3 separate regions of the Homo sapiens genome follow, and regions 2 and 3 are each linked to region 1. Evidence: promoter capture Hi-C in 16 types of primary human blood cells and fetal thymus (Javierre and others, 2016). All regions are on one chromosome and are shown on one strand. Each heading gives the region's core, a stretch centred on a gene start or on the middle of the fragment in contact. The rest is flanking DNA. Distances are from core to core; before and after follow the strand shown.

What was found. Contacts are between HindIII fragments. The CHiCAGO score rates a contact against its expected background, and 5 or more counts as called.
Region 2: a fragment that was not itself captured here is called in contact with the fragment with the promoter of SRPK3 in region 1 in 1 of 17 cell types (M0 macrophages); the score reaches 5.2 in M0 macrophages.
Region 3: a fragment that was not itself captured here is called in contact with the fragment with the promoter of SRPK3 in region 1 in 3 of 17 cell types (naive CD8 T cells, M0 macrophages and M1 macrophages); the score reaches 6.1 in naive CD8 T cells.

The regions. Positions count from the first base shown.
Region 1 is chrX:153,778,971-153,782,290 of GRCh38, reverse strand. SRPK3 (SRSF protein kinase 3) reads right to left here and starts at 1,250. Exons shown (of 15, transcript NM_014370.4): 1 at 1,146-1,250; 2 at 945-1,075; 3 at 678-786; 4 at 461-548; 5 at 83-170. The coding sequence starts at 1,204. LOC124905227 (a long non-coding RNA gene) reads left to right here. Exons shown (of 2, transcript XR_007068355.1): 2 at 1-2,977. PLXNB3 (plexin B3) reads right to left here. Exons shown (of 36, transcript NM_005393.3): 36 at 2,950-3,320. The coding sequence ends at 3,252. The HindIII fragment of the contact is 52,875 bases long and covers 1-3,320 here.
Region 2 is chrX:153,850,922-153,854,380 of GRCh38, reverse strand. No RefSeq gene overlaps it. Among named protein-coding and RNA genes, the nearest start is that of PDZD4, 22 kb to the right of the region's middle. The HindIII fragment of the contact is 1,373 bases long and covers 1,519-2,891 here.
Region 3 is chrX:153,888,263-153,891,588 of GRCh38, reverse strand. It overlaps L1CAM-AS1 (L1CAM antisense RNA 1), which reads right to left. Exons shown (of 7, transcript NR_130768.1): 7 at 2,599-3,092. Among named protein-coding and RNA genes, the nearest start is that of L1CAM, 3.8 kb to the right of the region's middle. The HindIII fragment of the contact is 721 bases long and covers 1,431-2,151 here.

The DNA of each region.
Region 1 (3,320 bases), core at 1-2,500:
GCAGACAGGCTCTAGCAGCGAGGGCCCCCCCATTTGCCGGCCCTTGGCTGCCACACTGCTTTGCTCTTCCTGCAAAGGATACGGACTCCATTGACTCCTGAGATCCTGAAGTCATCAATGAGCTGGACAATGGTCTCTCTTTTGGGGTCACTGGGGTCGCTGTCCCGGACCTGGAGCAAAAGCCAAGGGGCCACAGATGGTTCCACCCTGCCCTGAAGCCCACAGCTCCCTTCAGTGTACCCTTCTCCTGCTCCAGCTGGGCCCTGCTGGAAGAAAGGCCGCCAACCCCTCCTGTCCCTCGCCTGTTCCTCCAGATCCTCCCCCTTGGGCACAGCCAGCTGGAGGCTGCCCCTCAGGGAGCCCCGCCCTGCCCCACAGAGCCCCGGCAGGCCTTGCACCCGCATTGCCAGGCCCCAGGCAGCTCCAGGGGAGCTGGGAGTGGGGTAGGGAGGTGCCTCACACATTTCAGGAGCTTGATCTCATCCACAGCTGTCTCCGTGTAATGCCCCGCACTCTTCACCACTTTGAGGGCCACAAAGCGCTTGCGCCTGCAATACCGAGACCCTTGTAGGCTGTGGCCCTGGCAGGACCCACGGCGGGGATCAGGGTGGCCCCAAGCAAGCCCAGGGACAGGATCCCAGCCAGTGCTGGGCCCCGGAGGCGAAGGAGGCACTCACTGGATGTCCCAGCAGAGCCAGACGGTGGAGAAGTGGCCCCAGCCCAGTTTGCGCACCACGTGGTACCGCCCATTGAACACGTCGCCGATCTTCACAGGGTGGTAGCCGCCTGCCCAGGGGAGATGTAGATTGGGGTGGAGGGGGTTCTCACTCCCCTGGGCCCCCGAACACCTCGGCCCCATTGACCATCTGGCCCATGTGGGCCCAGGACTGCCCTGGGTCCCTGCAGTGGCCGTGAGGCCGCATGTCCCCAAGGCCAAGTCTCACCCTTGCAGTAGTCTTTGGGGTCTTCCTGTTCCTCGTCGTCGGAGCCCAGAAGGCCCTGCAGCATCTGAGGCACCGGTGTGGCCAGGGCTAGTTCGGAGCCCGAGGACTCGGGCCCGCAGGAGGCCTGTGAGCTGCGGGTGGGGTGAGTGGCAGTGGGCATGAGAGACGCCAGGGGCTCCGGGTGCCCCAGCCGAGCCCTACCTGCTGCTACTGCCGCCGCTGCCGCCGCTGTCCCCACCACCGCCCGTGCTGGCGCTCATCCCGGCCACGCAGCCCGCAGCTCCGGTGCCCCGGGCGGCTGCTCCTGTGGGGCCCGGCCGCGGCCTGCGAATTTATAGCCTTGGCCGGCCGCTGATCTCACCCGCCTTTATAAATAGCCTCCCAGCTGCTCGGCTGTGGGCAAGGTATGCGGTGCGGGGAGGGGGCGGCGCGACGGCGGCCCCAGAGAGCCCGGCCCCCGGGCAGAGGCCCCCCTCCTGCTCCAGGCCCACCCTGGAGGCAGAGGGGGCTGCTGCTTGGGGACCAGGGGCAACTGGGCCCCCAGGCTGAGCCTCCGCACCCCAGCTGAGGGGGAGGTCCACGCGGGGGTGAAGCAGCCCGTACCCCAGGTCGGGCTCCCGTTCTCCGGTGCGGACTGTGGGGATGTGCTCCACTTGGCAACCTGGTCCTTAGGCCAAGCCCCCACCACCTGTGCCCCTGTGGGCATCCTCCTGGAGGTGCCCTTCTCATTCCCATGGGAACCCTGTCCCTGGCTGCTCCCAGCCACTTCCTGCTTCTTCTATGTTTCATCAGCCCCTAGGACAACTGGGAGTCCAGTGCCCTCTGAATGTGGCGTCACTGGGGACCCCTCATTTCCCCTACCAGAGGCAACAGGCCTGCTGAGGGGAGGCCTGGGAGCTTGCCAGCCCAGAACCTGCTCCTGCGACGCTGCCTGGCGCTCTGGCTCCCAGCGCCTGCTCTTCCTCTCCACCATTTGCAAGGTGCCTGTCGTGGGCTGCTCCATAGCCAGACATGAGGGAGGCAGCAGGAAGCTGCTCACTGCTGGGGACAAGCAAGCCCATAGCCACTTCCCCATGAGTGCGGTGGTGACTGAGGGGCCTGTGACCCAGGGGCTGCATCATGAGAGACCAGGAGAAATTGGGTCCCCAGAAGCATCCAGGGCAGCACAGGGCACAGTGGGGCAAGGCCTGCGGCCAAGACGCGTTCCAGCCCTTCACGTGCTGGCCACGGCTGCCGCATGGTTCGAGGGCGAGGACTAGAGGCCTGGTGTCTGTAGGCTTAATGTGGAGCTTGGGTGATATGGGGTTGGGGGGTGGTCACTGAGCTTCTGCTCAGCAAAAGATCACTCTGGCCACTTCAAGGACAAGGGAATGGAGAGGCGAGGGTGGAGCCGGGAGGCCAGCTGGGGCCTGACAGAGGAGTCCCAATGAAAGGGAGGGGGCTCGGCAGAGAGGGTGTTTGTCCCAAGATATTGGTGCAGTGTCCCTGTACCAGGGTCCGTGAACTGGTAGGGGTGGGCCAGGCATTGCTGGAGGGGCCAGCGAGGTCAGAGAGTGGGAGGGAAAGTGAAGCCCGGGTACCTGATGGCCTCTCTTTGTCTGTGGGTAGCAGGTTATAGGCATGGGGCTGAGGGACTCTCAGTCAGGAGAGCACTGAGTCAGCTCCTGCAGGGAACAGCAGGGGCTGGGGATTGGGCCCTTTGTCAAAAGACATTTCTGGCCAGGCGCGGTGGCTCATGCCTGTGATCCCAGCACTTTGGGAGGCTGAGGCGGGCAGATCACCTGAAGTCAGGAGTTTTGAGACCAGCCTGTCCGACATGGGGAAACCCTGTCTTTACTAAAAATACCAAAATTAGTCGGGTGTGGTGGCACACGCCTGTAGTCCCAGCTACTCGGGAGGCTGAGGCAGGAGAATTGCTTGAACTCCGGGAAAAAGAGGTTGCAGTGAGCCGAGATTGCGCCACTGCACTCCAGCCTGGGAGAGAGAGCGAGACTCCGTCTCAAAATAAAATAAAAAGACATATTTCTATTTTATTTCCGGATGTGATTTTCCAGCAGGCAAATAAATACAATGGGGAGAGGGGGAAGGAGGGGGATCCTTATAAATTAGAAACAATCTCAGGTGGGGGGAAGGTGGGTGGGCTGGCAGGGGAGGTGGCAGGCAGGGAGCCCACTGCTGGGCACAGTGCCTGGCTTTGCACCCTGTGCCCCCAGGCTCTGCCAGCTCCCCTCAGTGGCTGGCTCGGTTCCGGGGTCATAAGGCGCTGCGGTGTTGGTGGATCCGGCTTGCTGCTGTCTGAGCCAGAGCTCACAGGTCAGTCACTTTGTTTTCCACCAGGGCGGCGACCTGCTGCAGGCGGCAGGCCAGCTGCAGCTT
Region 2 (3,459 bases), core at 956-3,455, 71 kb before region 1:
ATTCTTGGCTGGGCGTGGTGGCTCACGCCTGTAATCGTGGCACTTTGGGAGGCTGAGGTGGGAGAATTACTTGAACCCAGGAGTTTGAGACCAGCCTCAGCAACATGGTGAGACTTCATCTCTGCAAAAAATACAAAAATTCGCCGTGTGTGGTAGCTTATGCCTGTGGTCCCAGCTGCGTGAGAGGCTTAGGCAGGAGCATCCATTGAGTCCAGGAGGTTGAGGCTGCAGTGAGCCATGTTCATGATACTGCACTCCAACCTGGGTGACAGAGCAATGGCCTGCATGACAAAGGTCATGGTAGCATTATTTGTAGTGACTAAGGAAGCAGATAAAACATTAGGGAGTGTTATGCAGTACTTGGAAGCAAGATTATATGTAGACTCAACAATATAAATAGAGCCTAAAACCTAGTGCTGAATGACTTCTGTGTCTGGCAATGACAAAATAAGTAATTTGAACCACAACCTCCACTGAGAACAACTAAACAGACTCAGTAAAACAGGGAAAATATTTGCTTGAAAATATCCAAGTGATAATAGGCAGTGAAGCATATGGGACCAAGATATGGGAGAAAGGAAATGAGCTGAGAGATGAGCTCAGCATTTAAGGCTGCTTATCCCCTATGGCCATCCGCTAATTCCAGCAGAGACAGCTGAGGGCCCAAGAAGCTGAGCAGAACAGTTAGCAGACTTAAGAGGTGAGGGGTCAAAAGTCAGAGTGCAGGGCTCACCAAGGAAGAAGGCCCTAGTAAGCTCCTCGTGCTTTGGGTTGGAAACCCAAAGGTCTAGGAATAAGTGTAAACTGGAAATAGAATAGCCCTCTAAAGGACTGCATCCCTGTCCCCTAAGGGACTGTAGTCAAGATTTGAGCTCTTTCAATCCCTGAAAATTGGATTAAGGTGATCAGGATTTCTAGTGCCCCAGCTGCCTGCCAGAAACAAATGTAAATTTTCTCTGGAGGAAGATAACATTGTCCTTGGCCTCAAATGATTTATAGTTTCCATTCACAATGTCCAGCACTCAATAAAAAATAACGAGGACAAGGCCCAGCATGGTGGCTCATGCCTGTAATCCCAGCACTTGGGAGGCTGAGGCAGGGGGATTGCTTGAGCCCAGTAGTTCAATGTTACAGTGAGCTATGATTGCACTCCAGCCTAGGTGACAGTGTGAGACCCTGTCTTAAAAACAAACAAAACATGTCATAAGGAGAAAAGAAAATTTAATAAAAATGAAATTAGAAAAGTAATATAATAAAAATAGAGCCACAAGGACTCCAAATAATGGCATTATCAGATACAGACTTTAAAATAATTATATTTAATAATTCAAGGAAACAAAAGACAGAATTGAGAAATTTAGCAGATAATTTGAAACTACAAAAAGAATCTAGTGAAAAATTTAGAAATATAAAATATACAAATTAAAGTTAGGAGCTCAATGGGTGGGATATACAAGAGCTGAAGAGAGAAATAGTAAACAGAAAGATAAATCAGAAGAAAATAGCCAGACTAAAGCTTGGAGAGGTAAAAAGGTGGTAAAAGACAATGCAAAAGGAGGTAAGAAACATAGGGGATACAGAAAGAAGGTCTCATATATGTGTGTGTGCGTGTATTTTTTTTTTTTTTAAGACAAGGTCTTGCTGTGTTACCCAGGCTGGAGGGCAGTGGCACAATCTCCACTCACTGCAGCCTCGACCTCCTGAGCTCAAGCAATCCTCCTGCCTCAGCCTCCTGAGTAGCTAGCACTACAGGCACATGCAATCATGCCCAGCTAATTTTGTTCATTTTTTTTTTGTAGAGATGAGGTCTTACTATGTTGCCCAGGTTGGTCTTGAGCTCCTAGGATCAAGGGATCCTCCTGCCTCAGCCTCCCAAAGTGCTGGGATTACAGGCATGAGCGACCATGCTTGACCTAATATATGCTTAATTGGAGTTCAGAAAAACAAGGTGAGAAAGAATGGGGCACAGATAATATTTGAAGAGTTAATGGATGAAATATTTCCAAACTGGTGAAATATATCAAGTCAGTTTCTAGAAGTCACGTGAACCAAGAGCGGGATAAAACAAACAAAAAACCACACCTAGGCACATCATAGTAAAACTGAGGGAAAGCAAAGACAAAGAGAAAACATTCAAAGCAGCTGGTGGGTGGGTTGATTACTTTTATAGTTATGCAGTTTGACTGACAGCCAACTTCTCAACACAAACTACAGAAGCCAGAAAACAAGACAATGGTATATCTGATGTGCCAACAACAACAAAAAAACTGCCAGCCTTGAATTTTATGTCCGAGGACAATCTCTGTCCTTGGATCACAAAAATGGCCTCAAATTCTTGCCATCCCTGGATGCATACCCTTTTGTGATGGAACTTTCAGCTCCTCCCTGCAAGAGATAGAGTCCATTTTTCCACACTCTCAGATCTGGGCTTGGCCATGTGATTTGCTTTGGTCAACGGGACATTAAAAAACACAAGGCTTAAAAAGTGCCAATATGGCTGGGCGCAGTGGCTCACGCCTGTAATCCCAGCACTTTGGGAGGCTGTAATCCCAGCACTTTGGGAGGCTGAGGTGGGTGGATCACCTAAGGTCAGGAGTTTGAGACCAGCTTGACCAACATGGTGAAACCCTATCTCTACTAAAAATACAAAATTAGCCGGGCATAGTGGCACAGGCCTGTAATCCCAGCTACTCGGGAGGCTGAGGCAGGAGAACTGCTTGAAGCTGGGAGGTGGCAGTTGCAGTGAGCAGAGATGGTGCCATTGCACTCCACCCTGGGCAACAAGAGCAAAACTCTGTCTCAAAACAAGAAACAAAACAAACAACAACAACAACAACAACTCAAATAAGGGAAAAGGTGGTAGGATGGCAGGACTGACTATAATGTAAGCTTAGGAGCAGCTATTCAGTATTTGGGACTCTAGAGAAAGTCAAAGAAGAAAAGAAGAAACTGAAAAACTCTGTGTTAGCTGCTCAGGTCTGTTTACTGAAAGGGAGTAACTCCTGTTCTGGGCAACCCAGAAAGGAAAGGAAGCAAGACACGTGTCATCATTGCAAGAAGCAAGGACATTGGAAGAGGGATTGTCCAAAGAGACTGGGGCATGCAGGATGGCAGGAACAAGAGAATCAGGGGTGGGGGCCTAGGAGGATAAAACTCTCAGCTAGGAGATACTTTGCAAATGGCTCAAAATGGATAGATTGAGGAGATGGCAGTGGCGGGAAGAGATTAGGGTTAAGTGTGTGTATGTCGGTCACTGTTTGCCAGGCTGACCTGTCCTTGCCTTTTCTCATACAGACTGGTGCTACTTATTCTGCATTTGCCTTGGAAAGCTCTTGCTCTTGCTTTCCATCAGTACAGGTTGTTTGTATCTTGACTCAGCCTTCTACATATTCCCTTCCCTCCAATTCCCATCAGATGGGCCCTCTGCCTTTGCCTAAGGAGCAAGTGCTCCCCTTTCCT
Region 3 (3,326 bases), core at 542-3,041, 110 kb before region 1:
TCACTTGAGGTCAGGAGTTCGAGACCAGACTGACCAACATGGTGAAACCCCATCTCTACTAAAAATACAAAAATTAGTTGGGCGTGGTGGCCCACGCCTGCAATCCCAGCTACTTGGGAGGCTGAGGCAGGAGAATTGCTTGAACCCAGGAGGTGGAGGTTGCAGCAAGCTGGGATCACACCATTGCACTCCAGCCTGGGCAACAGGAGCGAAACTCCATCTCAAAAAAAAAAAAAAAAAAGTGAGCCACCAAGTCCAGCCTATACTCAAGAGGAGGAGAATTAAGCACTACCTTTTGAAGGCAGGAGTATCAAATAATTTATGGACCTACATTAAAACCACCAGAGCAGAGGTATTAGTTAACTTTAGACTTTATTAAGAATGCATGTTAAAATAGGTAGAGGAACTACTAAAAAATTCATAGAGCACTTCTAAACAAACAGAGGAGAAAATAGAATGAGAGAACAAATCCAGTCCATCTAAAAGATGACCAAGAGCAGAGCATCTGCCTGGGCATATTGACAGCTCTCGGCACTCACTCCCACCTTGTGGGCTCTGCATGGCAGAGGCTGGAAATGTTCCAGACTCCAGAGCAGCTGGACTTTGGGAAGCAAATTTAGTTTTGCCAATTGGCAAATTGGCAAATTTGCCAATTGCCAAATTGGGTGTGCTCACATGAAGTTTGGATGACTGAAGGAAGGGAAGCCACACTTCTGCTGTGTGGGGCTGCGTTTCTGCTGGACATCAAAGAATTTCTGGGGTCTAACCTTCACTTCTTGGTTGTTGAGGGGCACTTGTGGCAGCAATGGCTTCCTGGTCCCAGCTTGCTGATCCTCAGGTCATGACTTTGGTGGTGTCTTTTTGAACTCAAAGGTTACACTGGCCGCCTCCCAATCCCCCATCTTGTGGATGGTGGCAGAGGTAGCAGCTCCCTTGAGGAGCCAGGTCTGCACTGGTGTTATCAACACCTAGCCCAGAGTCCACTCCTTTGGCCCATCCAATGGTCAGGTAAGCATCTAATCCCTTCTACAGAATCCCTTTCTGTTCATGATCACGGGAGGAATTTCTGCTTCCTACCCTGAACCTTTGAGAGGTGAAGCCAGCTAGACTTCCTGGGTGATGTGGGGACTTGGAGAACTTTTCTGTCTAGCTAGAGGATTGTAAACACACCAATCAGCGCTCTGTGTCTAGCTAAAGGATTGTAAATGCACCAATCAGCAGTCTGTAAAAACGCACCAGTTTTCTGTGTCTAGCTAGAGGATTGTAAATGGACCAATCAGCACTCTGTAAAATGGACCAATCAGCACTCTGTAAAATGGACTAATCAGCAGGACATGGGAGGGGACAAATAAGGGAATAAAAGCTGGCCCCCCCCCGCCCCCCACAAGCAACGGCAACCTGCTTGGGTCCTCTTCCATGCTGTGGAAGCTTTGTTCTTTCACTCTTCACAATACATCTTGCTGCTGCTCACACTTTGGGTCTGTGCCACCTTTAAGAGCTGTAACACTCACCGCGAAGGTCCGCGGCTTCATTCTTGAAGTCAGCGAGACCAAGAACCCACTGGAAGGAACCAACTCCAGACACACCTTCACTGATACAATGTGGGGGTGAGGCCAGGTGCAGTGACTCACTCCTGTAATCCTAGCACTTTGTGAGGCCAAGGCAGTGGATCACCACTTGAGCCCAGGAGTTCAAGACCAGTCTGGACAACATAGTGAGACCTCACCTCTACCAAAAAAGAAAAAAAAATTAATCAAGTGTGGTGGTGGCACATCTGTTGTCCCAGTACTTGGGAGGCTGTGGTGGGAGGATCACTTGAGCCCAGGAGGTCGAGGTTGCAGTGAGCCATGATCACACCACTGCACTCCAGCCTAGGGAACAGAGTGAGACCCTGTCTCAAAGTAATAACAACACTAATAAAAAATAATAAAGTGGAGGTGGGGGAGAGAGATGGGGAAAGCAGGACAAATAGAAAGCAAATACTCACCTGGCGTGACTACATCCAGAGATAGCAGCAGTCATCACCGTGTGACCAGCTGACCTGCACAGTTCAAAGACAAAGGCAGGTTCAACATCAATCTACCACTTGACTGAACAATCCACTCCTAAGCGGTTACCTTAGAGAAATGAAGACACACATTTACACAAGCTTGCATATAAATGTTTAGAGCTGCTCCATCATAATCACACAAAGCTGGAAACTACCCAAGTGTCCTTCAGTGAGTGAATGGCTGAACAAACCCTGATCCAACCAAACAATGGAATACTACTCGGCAATCAAAAGGAAATATACTGCTCTCTCTCGCCCGCATGCTCTCTCTCTCTCTCTCTCACACACACACACAAACACACACACCAACATGGATGAAGCTCAAAAAGTATGCTGCGTGAGTGTGAAAGAAGCCAGACAAAAGAATATATACGGTATGATTCCATTTATAATAAAATTTAGAAAAGACAGAAATCAGATCAGTGGTGGCCAAGGGCAGGGGGTGGTGGGAGTGGTTGGCTGCACACAACATTCACCAAAACTCCTTGAACTGTAAACCTCAAAAGGATGAATTTTACTGTATGTAAATTATACTCCAATAAAGTTGATTTTTTTTTTTTTTTTTTTGAGACAGGGTCTCACTCTGTCACCCAGGCTGGAGTGTAGTGGTGTGATCATGGCTCACTGTAGCCTCAACCTCTTGGGCTCCAGCGATCCTCCCACCTCAGCCTCCTGAGTAGTTGGGACTACAGACATGCACCACCATGCCTAATTTTAAAATTTTTTTTGTAGAGACGTGGTCTCGCTGTGTTGCCCAGGCAGGTCTCAAAGCTGATTTTTAAAAAGACAAGAATTGTTAGACAGAATCAAACCAAACCAAAACCCAACTATGTGCTGTTTCCAAGCGCTACACCTGAGATATGAAGACACAGAAAGATTGAAAGGAGAACAGAGAAAGACACGTCTGGCTGAGCCCACCCCGCCTGCCTGCTGGCACTTCCTTACTGCCCCACTGTCGTCTGTGGCTTCTGCGTCTTCTGCATGCTCATCACAGGGTCAGAGTCTGGGGCTTCCCTTGTCCAGTCCACTGTGTCTATGAGGGCTGGGTCACAGGGAGCAGGGCTGTGAGAAGCACTTGACGTTGAAGGGAAAGAGACAGTCATCTGTCTACTTGGTGTCCCCCTAACCTCCAACAGCAAGCACATGGCAGTGGGGGGGTGGCTTGCCTCTTGTTCAGGGCCAGTCCCTCCTGCTTCTCCTGGGACTTGCTCTGCCCTTGGTCTTCTGTCACTCTTGCTCTTGCTCCCATTGGCTCCTCCACTTCATTACATGGAAG